Regions from separate parts of the Homo sapiens genome. Here region 2 is linked to region 1. The links are contacts of gene promoters, found by promoter capture Hi-C in blood cells and fetal thymus (Javierre and others, 2016). All regions are on one chromosome and are shown on one strand. The core of a region is centred on a gene start or on the middle of the fragment in contact, and the rest is flanking DNA. Distances in the headings are between cores, read along the strand shown.

Region 1 (6,402 bases), core at 2,274-4,773:
TCTGCTTTCTACTATATCCTACAAAGCAATCATCACAACCAACAAACAAAATACAAACTAAACATTTATCTAGGACAATCAAAGTGCCTCTTAAAAAAAATCTGGTTCTCTTAATTTTTCATTTTTCAATGAGGAGATAAAGACAGGACGTGAATCCAGATTTTCTTGGCCTTGTGTTGAAAGTAAACATCAAAGTCAACTTTGTTCAGCAGCTGGGAATCCTCACCCAGCTCTTTCCAGCTGTGCCCTCCGCACCTAAGTGATGAACAGAATCTGACCCGGAGCACACTCACAGAAGTGTGCTTCTCTGGAAGGCAAGGTGAAATTCACTCTTTACAGGGAAGCATATACTAAAATAAGCAACTTACTATTACAAGCCTGGATGGCCAAGGCTCTTGTTTCACTAGCCTAAAAAAGAGAAGGTCACATGATTTTCCCTGGAATTTTTTTTCCCTACCCAGACATTTGTTCTTCCCTGGGACACAGGGATAGGGCAACTACAGTAAACTTTTAATCCACAAGGTAGCTGGTGACGTCTCGCAGCCCTCCAACCTGCTAAGTAGCTAAACTGGTGGGTTAGACATTTGCAGCTGTGCACTTAGAACTGGCATTTAGTACCTAGACTGAGGTATTCATGATGACAAACAGCAACTGGAAAAGTAAGCCCAGAGCATCTTAAAACTTCAAAATGTATTTTGTAGTGTTATTGTTTTTAAACTTTCTTCACATAAACTTTTTCACATAAATATAGATGTGTTTGGCTGCGAAATGAGGTTTGTAAAGTTTGCAAGTAAGGAAAGAAATACTGTAACTAGAGTCTTATAACATTAATGCAAAGTGACAGCAATTTAAAGTAATTTTCAAACATAAGCCCTGCTCCTGGACCAGAAGAATTCTACATATGAGAAAATCACAGAGTGATGTTTTATGTGATGTTTTACGTGATTGATCAATGGCCACAAAAGACTCTGAATCAAGGAATTTAGACTTAGACCTTATTTCATCCATAAAGTCTTTCTGTAGAAACAAAATTCTAATCACCACTCATGGAAACAGAGCTTGGGACAAATATTTATCATTAATCAAATTTAAAATGTACCCAAAGTAGGCTGGGCATAGTGTGTCACATCTGTAATCCCAGCATTTTGGGAGGCTGAGGTGGGTGGATCACTTGAGGTCAGGAGTTCAAGACCAAGCTGGGCAATGTGGCAAAACCCCGTCTCTACTAAAAATACAAAAAATTAGCTGAGTGTGGTGGTACACGTTTGTAATCCTAGCTACTTGAGAGGCTGAGACAGGAGAATCGCTTGAACCCTGGGAGGCAGAGGCTGCACTGAGCCAAGACCACACCACTGCACTCCAGCCTGGGTGACAGAGCAAGACTGTCTCAAAAAAAAAAAAAAAAAAAGTACCCAAAGTGTATAGCACAAGTACCAATCACGAAGTATGAGCGTAGGGGACTGGTAAGGGTTTGCTGTTTTCACCTACCTTCTTTGGAAATACTGGATCCCAAATTCAGCCTACATTTATAGAAAAAGACATGGCAATACACCTAAATGTATTCAGTAAGGGGCTTGACTTATTTTAAAATCCAATGTCATACCCTCTGTGGCTCAAAGCAACTGACTGTGACAAGAACTTTTATTTATAGGCAAGGCAAAGCTGCCCAGCAGAGCTTCCATCCAAGAAAATAAAACTAACAGTAGGGAGTAAGGAAATTAACTTTCAAAGCACCCTACCGTTTTGAAAATAACATTCTTATTCAATTTCTGTAGAAAGCTGGGACTTTGCGTTATTTAATGGCTAGAGTATAAATTAACACCCTTTTTTGTCAAATCTAATGATGTTACAAAGCAGAATTTAGAACATTTACTACTTACAAGCAAACTAACCCCCTTTCTTAACTTGTGTTCAATTGGGAAGGAAAACATCACCCAGGCATTTCAACAGCCATGCCCTCTTGCAAAATGTTTCTTACAGAACATCAGGATTTTATCTATACCAGCATTTTTATAAACTGCAGGTCTCAACTCATGAGTGGATCCTAAAACGCAATTCAGTGAGTCACAAGCAGCTTAGAAAAAAAGGACACAGAAAATTGCACATGATATTTTGTGAATAGTGTATGTGTTATGGGTATTGGGTGATGTTGCAATACATATTTCGTATTGTGGATTGTGGTCAAGAAAAACTTGAAAGTCACTCAAATAACCAAGCTGTAGAGCTACTCGATTACATGATTACACATATGGGTTTTTCAAACAAAGGCATATTGTTCAGCACCGGGTGTTTTTAAACAGAAACATAAAGGGAATGGAAGCCAGGGTGGCTAATGGTACATAATGGCCTTAATTACACCACTGAAGGATCAATATTAGCGTAGCTCAGTCACCAGCAGCCAAGGCACAGAAACTGGTACAGCAGGAAGTGGGAAACTGGGAATCGGTCATCCCCGCCTGATGCTCAGGGTGCACATTCCAAAAAGATGATTCCATATGGTCCCCAGGGCTCGCTTCCATGAAAATAGGGAAAGAAACAGGCGTTTGCCTGTAAGTCACAGAATCCTGCAGATGCCTGAAACACACTTCAGCCCAGCTCCCTCTCAAAGCCCAAATGTGAACATCGAAGTAAAACATTAAAAATCCACTCAAAAACAACAGGGTGGAGCTCCTGTTTCCTGGAGAGAAAGCAGTCTGCGCCCGGGAAAAGAGTCTTGGACTCCGAGAAGGAGATCCTGCCTGGCTGGGTGGGCGATGTGAAAACAGCCAAAGAAATCCAAAGGTTTCTTCCATCCAGAGCGGGCAGGCACGATGCCCTGCGTCGGGGATGGGACAGGGGCTGGCCTGGCCGCAGGGATAGGCTGCCTCTTTGTCCGAGGCCCTGCCCAGATGCCACGTTGAGATGCTCAAGGACAAATGGGAAAGTTTTTCCTGTACTCTCATCTTCCTGGGCCCCAACTACAGAGTCCTGGGTCAACTTGCAACTTCCTCTCCTTTCTCATCTCTTTCTTTTGGCCACTGTCTCTCTTCCCCAGACACCCACTTTGGTCACTGGCTTTCCCACCGCCCTGCTCCCCCCATATTCCGTGGCCCCCGCAGCCCCACCACTCCCTTTGCGAACTCCCTGCTTTCACCCTTGGCCCAACCTTGTCGCTCTGGGAGGACACTGGGAGTGGGGTGGGGTGGGGGGTGCGGCAAACCCCACTGAAGGGGTACGGGGATAACAAGATCCCAATGCGTCCGAAGCAGACACCGGCCCTCCCGCCGAGGCCGCCTCGAGGCGGAAGCCACAAGCTGCTCTCAGGACGACACCCCTGGGTCCTGACACTCTGTCCCCCACCTCCCTGGCAGGGGCCGAGTCGCAGCTTACGTGCAGTCCTGGTTGAAAGAGAAGCAGCTGAGCGCCGACTCAACCCCGCCCGGGGGAGCGTCCGCGGCCTCGGCCTCCATCGGGGGCTCGGCCCGGGAAGCCGCAGCTCGGAGCCGGCGACAGCCACCTCAGCAGCCCGCCCGCGCCGGCTCCACGGGCCGGGTCGCCGGTCCTGCCCCGCCCCTACCCCGCCCCGTCCCCACCCCGCCCCTACCCCGCCCCGTCCCCACCCCGCCCCTACCCCGCCCCGTCCCCGCCGCGTCCCCGGCTTCGCCCCGCCCCTTCTCGCCCCTCCAGCTGGTCCCGAGGACCAGAGCACCTGATAGGGCGGGGCCCCTGCCTCCGGCCACCATTGGCCACGAGCCCAAGCCACGGCTGGCGGGCACCGCCCCCCTTGGCCAATCCGTGGCAGCTGTGGGCGGACCCGCCCGGCTGGCGACCCGCCCCTGGCTTCGTAACGCGGCTCTCCATTGGACAAAGGCGCGTGACGCAAAGGCAGCAGGCCCACGTGGCGGTGTTTTCATTGCCGGAGCCGCCCAGCTGGGAGGGAGAGGGAAGAAGGAATGCGGCTGGGGCCAGATCTGCTGGTTTCAGTCCGGCAACTGCGTCGGGGCCGCCGCAAGGGTGACAGGAGGACGCGCTAGTTCCCACCCCGCCCAGACCCCTTGCCATGTGTAACTCTGCCTATTAAACTTACAGAGTTTAGCAGAGAGCGTTAGACTCCAAAGCCCCACCCTTTTGTCGAGTCCTCAAGCCGCATTGAGAGAAGCTCCTGAAATGGGGCTGCCTCAGCCAGAGAGATAGCAAGTTATCTTATCCATTGCCGAGCGGTTGAGAACCCTCACTACTTGCCAAGCGCGCCGTACTATGTATGTCATCTTGAATTCTTATAAAACTTGTGTGGAAAATACGATTGTGCTCAATATACAGAAGAGGCAACTGAAGCTCCAAAGCTAAACAATTTGTCTAAAGTAACAGTAAATGGTAGAATGTCTGCATGTCTGCTTTCAAGACCTGTGCACTAAATAACTGCTAAACAGTAATTTGCAAAAACAACGTAGCACCTAGCATGCGAGATTCTAGGTTTTCTAACCAGGACAGAAATGACTGCAGCATTTGACGGAGCTGGAAGGTGGGGGGAAGCACCTTTGATCTGAAAAGTTACAAAAATGGCACAAAGTATCTAAACAAGACCTATCCGATCCGCAGCTGAAAAAAATGAAAGTGTGTGTAGGGCAGTGTAGTTTATGAAAGGGGTAACGTCTTGAAGATATAGCACAATTCAAAACTCACGTAATTCGAGATAAACCTTAACAAAGAATCTCTTTTTAAAAGCTGAGTACTGTACATGTTCCCATGCGGAATTACTGTCAATACGGTTTATGAAGCAGGAGCTCTGCCAGCTTTGGATTGTATAACTGCTGATGGATTTTTAATTCATTTTTTCAAATTTTGAGATGATATTTTAGTTATTGTTATATGACAGTCTCTCAAATCAGCATAATTCAAATTTATTAGGTTGGTGCAAAAGTAATTGCGGTTTTCCCCATTTCCCACTTTTAATACCCAGTTTATGACAAAGCTACTTTTATGTATGTGTATATATATATATATTTAACCTTGGACCTACAATAGATGAACAAAGGGCACTATTTCACCTAAACCTTTCTGGTTGGATTTCCGGTTTGTGTTTTCTGAGATGCAAATGTAACAGTTTCTTTTCTCAACTTTATTATTTTTTTCTCTCCACTGATGTAAAAAATAGTTCAGCTCATAGATTCACAGATGTTATTGCTCTTTGGCTGATTGTGAGGTGTTGTATAAACTATCAGAAGTGAATGGAACTGCTGTTTAGATACTTTGTGCCATTTTTGTAACCTTTCAGATCAAAGGTGCTTCCCCCCACCTTCCAGCTCTGTCAAATGCTGCAGTCATTTCTGTCCTGGTTAGAAAACCTAGAATCTGGCATGCTAGGTGCTACGTTGTTTGGAGAATTACATGAAGTGTACCATAAAGTTTTTAAAGTGTAAGCTGTTATTATCAGTTTGTTATTAAGAGTTTGGACTTTATGGGATAGACCTGGGAGCTGGTGTTAGTTTTTGAGCAGGAGTGTTTCATGATAAAAAAGCAGTGTCTTTGTCAGATAAACTTGGCCAGGGTGTGCAGAACAAATTAGAAGTGGGAAAAGATCTAGAAGTCTTTAGGGGACTAATGTGAAATTCTGGAAGTAAAGGGACAGGAGAGACTAGGCTAAAGTGATGAAAACAAGGCCAGAAAATTAGACCAAATCATAGAGTTGTTTTCAGGCATTGCTGTCCAGTAGATAAAATGAGCCCCAAATGTGAACTCCACATTGTAAATTTCAGTTTTCTAGAAGATACATTTAAAAAGGTAGAAATAGGCAAATTAATTGGAATAATATCATTTATTTAATCCAATGTGTCAAAAATATCATTTCAATATAAAGATAATCAATATAAAGTTACTAATCAGTTAATTCAGGTTTTAATTTTTTTTTTTTTTGAGACAGAGTCTTGCTCTGTCACCAGGCTCACTGCAACCTCTCCATCCCGGGTTCAAGCGATTCTCCTGCCTCAGCCTCCCAAGCAGCTGGGACTTCAGGCCCCCGCCACCATGCCCAGCTAATTTTTGTATTTTTAATACAGACGGGATTTCACCATGTTGGTCAGGCTGGTCTCACACTCCTGACCTCATGATCCACCTGCCTCAGCCTCCCAAAGTGCTGGGATTACAGGCGTGAGCCACCACGCCTGGCCTCAGATTTTAATTTTTTTTTAGAACTAAATATTGAATATCCGGTGTGTATTTTTCACTTACACCATATCTCAGTTCACATGAGCCACATTTTAAGTGTTCATGTAGCTGGTGGCTACTTTATTCTCAGTAGAGTCTTGAGGGACTAAATGACAGGCATGGCAACTGATGGGGAAGGGGGAGGGGCAGGGAAGAAGAGGGAAGAGTCAAAGCTGATTTCATGGTTGGGAAGGGGAAGCCCATTGGGTTGCTTTTAGA
Region 2 (6,402 bases), core at 1,821-4,320, 250 kb before region 1:
TGAGGAGCCCTTCAGCCCGCCACTGTACTGTGGGAGCCCCTTTCTGGGCTGGCCAAGGCTGGAGCCGGCTCCCTCAGCTTGCGGGGGAGGTGTGGAGGGAGAGGCGCAGGCGGGAACCGGGGCTGCGAGCGGTGCTTGCGGGCCAGCGTGAGTTCCCAGTGGGTGTGGGCTCGGTGGGCACGCACTTGGAGCAGCCGGCAGGCCCCGCCGGCCATGGGCAGTGAGAGGCTTAGCACCTGGGCCAGCAGCTGCTGTGCTCAATTTCTCGCAGGGCCTTAGCTGCCTTCCCACGGGGCAGCACTTGGGACCTGCAGCCCGCCATGCCTGAGCCTCCCCTGCCCCCGTGGGCTCCTGTGTGGCCTGAGCCTCCCTGACGAGCACCGCCCCCTGCCCCACGGCGCCCAGTCCCATCGACCACCCTAGGGCTGAGAAGTGCGGGCACAGGGCGCGGGACTGGCAGGCAGCTCCACCTGCGGCCCCAGTGCGGGATCCACTGGGTGAAGCCAGCTGGGCTCCTGACTCTGGTGGGGGACTTGAAGAACCTTTATGTCTATCTAAGGGATTGTAAATACACCAATCGGCACTCTGTATCTAGCTCAAGGTTTATAAATGCACCAATCAGCACCCTGTGTGTAGCTCAGGGTTTGTGAATGCACCAATCGACAATCTGTATCTAGCTAATCTAGTGGGGAGGTGGAGAACCTTTGTGTTTAGCTCAGGGATTGTAAAGGCACCAGTCAGCGCCCTGTCAAAAGAGACCACTCGGCTCTCTGTAAAATGGACCAATCAGCAGGATTTTGAGTGGGGCCTGATAAGAATAAAAGCAGGCTGCCCCAGCCAGCAGTGGCAACCCATTCAGGTCCCATTCCACATTGTGGAAGCTTTGTTCTTTCGCTCTTTGTGGTGAATTTTGCTGCTGCTCACTCTTTGGGTCCACACTGCCTTTACGAGCTGTAATACTCACCGCGACGGTCTGCAGCTTCACTCCTAAAGCCAGCGAGACCACGAACCAACCAGGAGGAACAAACAACTCCAGACACGTCGCCTTAAGAGCGGTAACACTCACCTGGAAGGTCAAGGTCTGCAGCTTCACTCCTGAAGCCAGCGAGACCACGAACCCACCAGAAGGAAGAAACTCCAAACACATCCGAGCACCAGAAGGAACAAACTCCGGACACGCCGCCTTTAAGAACTGTGACACTCAGCGCGAGGGTCTGCGGCTTCATTCTTGAAGTTAGTGAGACCAGGAACCCACCAATGCTGGACACTAACATAAACTGGAAAAAGGTAATTTGTTTTGCCGGATGGTCAGAATCGTTGCCAGACTTGTCCGGGGAGGCTGTATGGAGAATAAAAGGAATGAATTCAGTGTCAGATATTTATGTCTTATATGTAGAAAGGACTACATGTAAATTTTTGCCAACTTAATTTTAGTACTTTTTTTTTTTTTTTTGATGGAGTCTTGCTCTGTCGCCTAGGCTGGAGTGCAATGGCGCGATCTTGGCTCACTGCAACCTCCACCTCCTGTGCTTAAGCGATTCTCCTGCCTCAGCCTCCCCAGCAGCTGGGATTACAGGCGCCCATCAGCATGCCCGGCTAATTTTTGTGTTTTTAGTAGAGATGGGGTTTCACTATGTTGGCCAGGCTGGTCTCAAATTGCTGACCTCAAGTGATCCGCCTGCCTCTGCCTCCCAAAGTGTTGGGATTACAGGCGTGAGCCACTATGCCCGGCCTTTAGATGTGTCTTGTATTTTGCATGCAAGCGTGTGTTAGTGATGGACTTCTTTTGTAAAATAATATTATAGAAGAAAATAATTGTGGGTGTGTGTGTGTGTGTGTGTGTGTATATGTATATATATATATATATATATATTTTTTTTTTTTTTTATACAGAGTCTCCTCTCAGGCTGGAGTGCAGTGACGTGATTCTGACTCATGGCAACCTCCACCTCCCGGATCAAGTGATTCTCCTGTTTCAGCCTCCTGAGAAGCTGGGATTACAGGTGCCTGCCACCATACCCGGCTAAGTTTTGTATGTTTAGTAGAGATGAGGTTTCACCATGTTGGCCAGGCTGGTCTTGAACTCATAAACTCAGGTGATCCACCCCCTTTGGCCCCCCAAAATGCTGGGATTACAGGCTTGAGCCACCACCCCAGCCCCAGTATATTCTTTTGATTTTAAAAATTAAAATATTATAAAATTAAAACCCAAACCACAATGAGATACCACTTCACATTCACTAGCAGGGCTGTAATGTTTAAAAAAAATAAAAATAAAAAGTGTTGGGGAGGATTTGGGGAAATTGGAACCATTATGTATTGTTAGAGAGAATGTAAAACCATGTAACACTGGAAAATGCTTTGGCAGTTACTCAAAAAGTTAAACTTAGAGCTACTATATGACCCGGTAATTCTATTCATACATATATAGTCAAAAAAGAATTGCAAACAAATGGTCATGCAAAAACGTATACACATATGTATACAGCAGCATTATTCTCAATGACCAAAAGGTGGAAACAGCCTACATGTGCATTAACTGATGAATGGATAACCCAAATGTGATTGATCCATATAACAGATACATTATTCAGCCTTGGAAGGAAATTCCGACATGTTACAACATGGAGAACCCTTGAGGGCATTATGCTAAGCGAAATAAGCCAGTCACCAAAGGACAAATACTGTGTGATTCCACTCATGAGGTACTTAGAGTGTTCAAATTGGTAAAGACAGAAAGTAGAAGGGTGATTACTGTAGGCTGGGAGAAGGAGAGAATGGGGAGTTAGTGCTTAATAGGTACGAGTTTCCATTTGGGAAGATGAAAAAGTTCTGGAGATTGGTTGTACAACAATGTGAATATACTTAACTCTACTGAATTGTACACTTAAAAATGGTTAGAGACAACCAGGTGTGGTAGCTCATGCCTGTAATTCCAGCACTTTGGGGGGCCACGGTGGGAGGATCACTTGAGTCCAGGAGTTCAAGATCAGCCTGGGCAACATAGAGAAATCCTGTCTCTACAAACAATGCAAAAATTAGCCAGGTGTGGTGGTGTGTGCCTGTGGTCCTAGTTACTTGTGAGACTGAGGTAGGAGGATCACCTGAGCCCAAGGAGGTTGAGGCTGCACTGAGCTGTGTTTACACCATTGCACTCCAGCCTGAAAGACAGAGTGAGACCCTGTCTCAAAAAAAAAGGGGGGGGGGGAGGTGGTTAGAGTGTAAATTTTATGTTATGCATACTTTACCACAATTTTCAAAAATTATTTGAAAGAAGCCACACACAAAAATCTTGTTTAGTGAAATCACGTATTGTATGATTTCGTTTATATGGAATGTCCCAAATGGGCAAATTCACAGGAAGTAAGTAAATACTTGCCAGGAAATGGGAGGGGAAATGGTTGAGTAGGGCCAGTGATTCTGGGGCTTCTTTCTGGGGTGATGAAAATGTTCTGGAATTGGCCGGGCACGGTGGCTCACGCCTGTAATCCCAGCGCTTTGGGAGGCCGATGCGGTAGGATCATGAGGTCAGGAGATCGAGACCATCCTGGCTAACACAGTGAAACCCCGTTTCTACTAAAAATGCAAAAAAATTAGCTGGGCGTGGTGGCGGGCATCTGTAGTCCCAGCAACTCGGGAGGCTGAGGCAGGAGAATGGTGTGAACCTGGGAGGTGGAGATTGCAGTGAGCCAAGATTACACCACTGCACTCCAGCCTGGGCAACAAAGCAAGATTCCGTCTTAAAAAAAAAAAAAAGAAAAAATGTTTTGGAATTAAATAGTGGTGATGGTTTTACAACCTTGTGAATACTATACTAAAACCCACTAAATTGTGCACTTATTTAAAAGGGTGAATTTATGGTGTATAAATTAATTATATCTCAATAAAAATAAAAAGTGGTATGAAGAATTGGGAAAACATATGTATATGTATATATATGTATATATGTATATGTATATATATGTATATGTATATATGTGTATATGTATATATGTATATGTATATATGTGTATATGTATATATGTATATGTATATATGTGTATATGTATATATGTATGTGTATGTATATGTATATATGTACATGTATATATATGTATATGTATATATGTGTGTGTATGTATATATATATGCCTTGAGTCTTTTTTAATCAGTTCCCTTTGTCCTTTTAAGTTATACCCAACTGATACTATATTATCATAAGGTTTCCAGTCCAGATCTATCTGTATATCTTTATCTCTATCTATATATATCTGTATTTATATATCTCCAGAAAAATATGCAAAATGGCTTGCTGATTTTCTTTTGATTTTAAAACTTAACATGTTTTTGGCCAGGTGTGGTGACCCACACCTGTAATCCCAGCACTTTGGGAGGCCAAGGTGGGTGGATCACTTTAACCCAGTAATTCAAGACCAGCCTGGGCAACATATCGACACCCCCTTTTCTACAAAAAATACAAAAATTAGCTAGGCATGGTGGCACGTGCCTGTAGTTCCAGCTACTTGAGAAGCTGAGGCAAGAGGATTGCTTGAGCCCAGGAGGCAGAGGTTGCAGTGAGCCAAGAATATACCACTGCACTCCAGCCTGGGTGACAGAACCAAATCTTGTTTCAAAGAAGAAAAAAAAATCTACCCTTGAAGTGGCTTATGCCTGTGATCCCAACACTTTGGGAGGCTAAGGCAGGAGGATGCCTTGAGCCCAGGAGTTTGAGGCTGCAGTGAGCTATGATTATGCCATTGCACTCCAGCTTGGGAGACAGAAAGAGACCTTGTCACAAAAATAAATAATTTAATTAAATAATTTTTTTTCTTTTCTTTCTTTTTTCAGGGTCTCTTTCACCCTGTCATCCAGGTTGGGGTGCAACGGCTCAATCTCAGCTAACTGCCACCTCCACCTCCTAGGTTCAAGCGATACTCCCACCTCAGCCTACCAAGTAGCTAGGATTATACAGGTGCACACCACCACACCTGGCTAATGTCTTTTGTTTGTGTATTTTTTGTAGAGATGGGGGTTTTGTCATGTTGCCTAAACTCCTGGGTTCAAGCAATCCACCGACCTCAGCCTCCCAAAGTGCTGGGATTACAGGAGTGAGCCATCGCACCTGGCCAATTTTTTCCTTTTACTGTGTCTGTGGTTCCACAACTTCCTTTTTTCCTGTTCTCTATGGACTTTCTACCTCATTTGGACTCTGCTTAGATTGGCCTAGTTCTCTTTAATCAAATCTTCAGGAACCAATTCATTACCATTAAAAATGATCTAACAAGCTTTATTTTTTATCATTGTTAAAAATCCTCGTTTTGAGTAACACAACCACAAAGTAAAGAATGTTATCATTGATTTAACCAGTAAAAGACAATACTTAACAATAAAATTTTAAAAACATACGCCAGCCGGCTTACCTGGTGAAAAAAATGATTGCGGCTGCAAGCTGCATTTGCCAGACAATGGTTTTAGATTTGCTGTGCACGCTGAACGCCATGAAAAATGGACTGCCTGGCCTCTTCATAAGGAAATCAATTACTTGCCTCTTTCTGAGTGAAAAGAATGAAAGGATTTAAAAAATCATAATAACCAAAATGGGGAGAATAAAACAAACTGGGCAGAGGGATGGGCTACTTTGCGTCTTCAGCTTCTGAAGTCTTCAAAGCCCTCTTCCAGTTCTTAGAATTAGGTCACATGAAAAAATCTGGTAGGATGAAATGAGTGTCAGAGCAGGGAATGGAAAGGAGAGTAGAAACTTTATCAATGTGCTGTCGAGAGGTCTGAATCCACACTGATTCTTGATTCTTTGTGGCTGGAAGCTTACGGAATCTTCGCTGTCTATGGTGTTCTGCAGTTTTACAGTGATACGCCCTTGTGTGGGCCACTTTCATCCACGAGGTATTTTTGGTGGGCGTTTTCAATCTGGCAATTGTGTTTGATTCTGAGAACTTCTCCTGACAACTTCCTCTTTTCCCTCTTGTATTTATCTTGAGCTATGATTTTATTGAACGTTGGACTTCCTATTTTGGTCTTCTGACATTCTTATCATTTCTCTCCAGTTTTCCTCTTTGTCTCTTTTTCTTTTTGGGGTATTTGTATGTGTTCAGGTTTTTAAGATTTCCTTATCTTGGTCGTCCAACCCTACTATCCAGTTTTTCCTTTCTGCTACCATATTTTTATTATCTAAGAGCTCTTTTGTTTTTAGAATCTTCCTTTAAAAAAATTAGTAAAATCCTGTTTCTGTGTCCTGGATATAGTATTTTCTCTTACTTTTCTGAGGCTATTAATGACAGGTTTTTTTTTTTCTCCTCTGTGCATGGTCTGTTTCTTCTAAGTTGCTGCTTCCTATTCTTTTTTTTTTTTATTTCTTCCTCAGATGTTTATTAATTCTTAATTTTCTGCTTCTCATTAACATCGTGG

The links. The method cuts DNA at HindIII sites, captures the fragments that hold promoters and counts their contacts. A CHiCAGO score of 5 or more calls a contact.
Region 2: a contact is called between a fragment that was not itself captured here and the fragment with the promoter of WIPI1 in region 1, in 11 of 17 cell types (naive CD4 T cells, naive CD8 T cells, total CD4 T cells and 8 more). The highest score is 12.7, in naive CD4 T cells.

Annotation. Positions count from the first base shown.
Region 1 is chr17:68,453,973-68,460,374 of GRCh38, forward strand. It overlaps WIPI1 (WD repeat domain, phosphoinositide interacting 1), which reads right to left and starts at 3,524. Exons shown (of 13, transcript NM_017983.7): 1 at 3,370-3,524. The coding sequence starts at 3,449. It also overlaps a transcript of PRKAR1A not described here. RefSeq lists silencers at 3,264-3,943, 3,680-3,966. The HindIII fragment of the contact is 11,803 bases long and covers 1-6,402 here.
Region 2 is chr17:68,207,761-68,214,162 of GRCh38, forward strand. It overlaps a transcript of AMZ2 not described here. Among named protein-coding and RNA genes, the nearest start is that of AMZ2, 37 kb to the right of the region's middle. The HindIII fragment of the contact is 4,383 bases long and covers 880-5,262 here.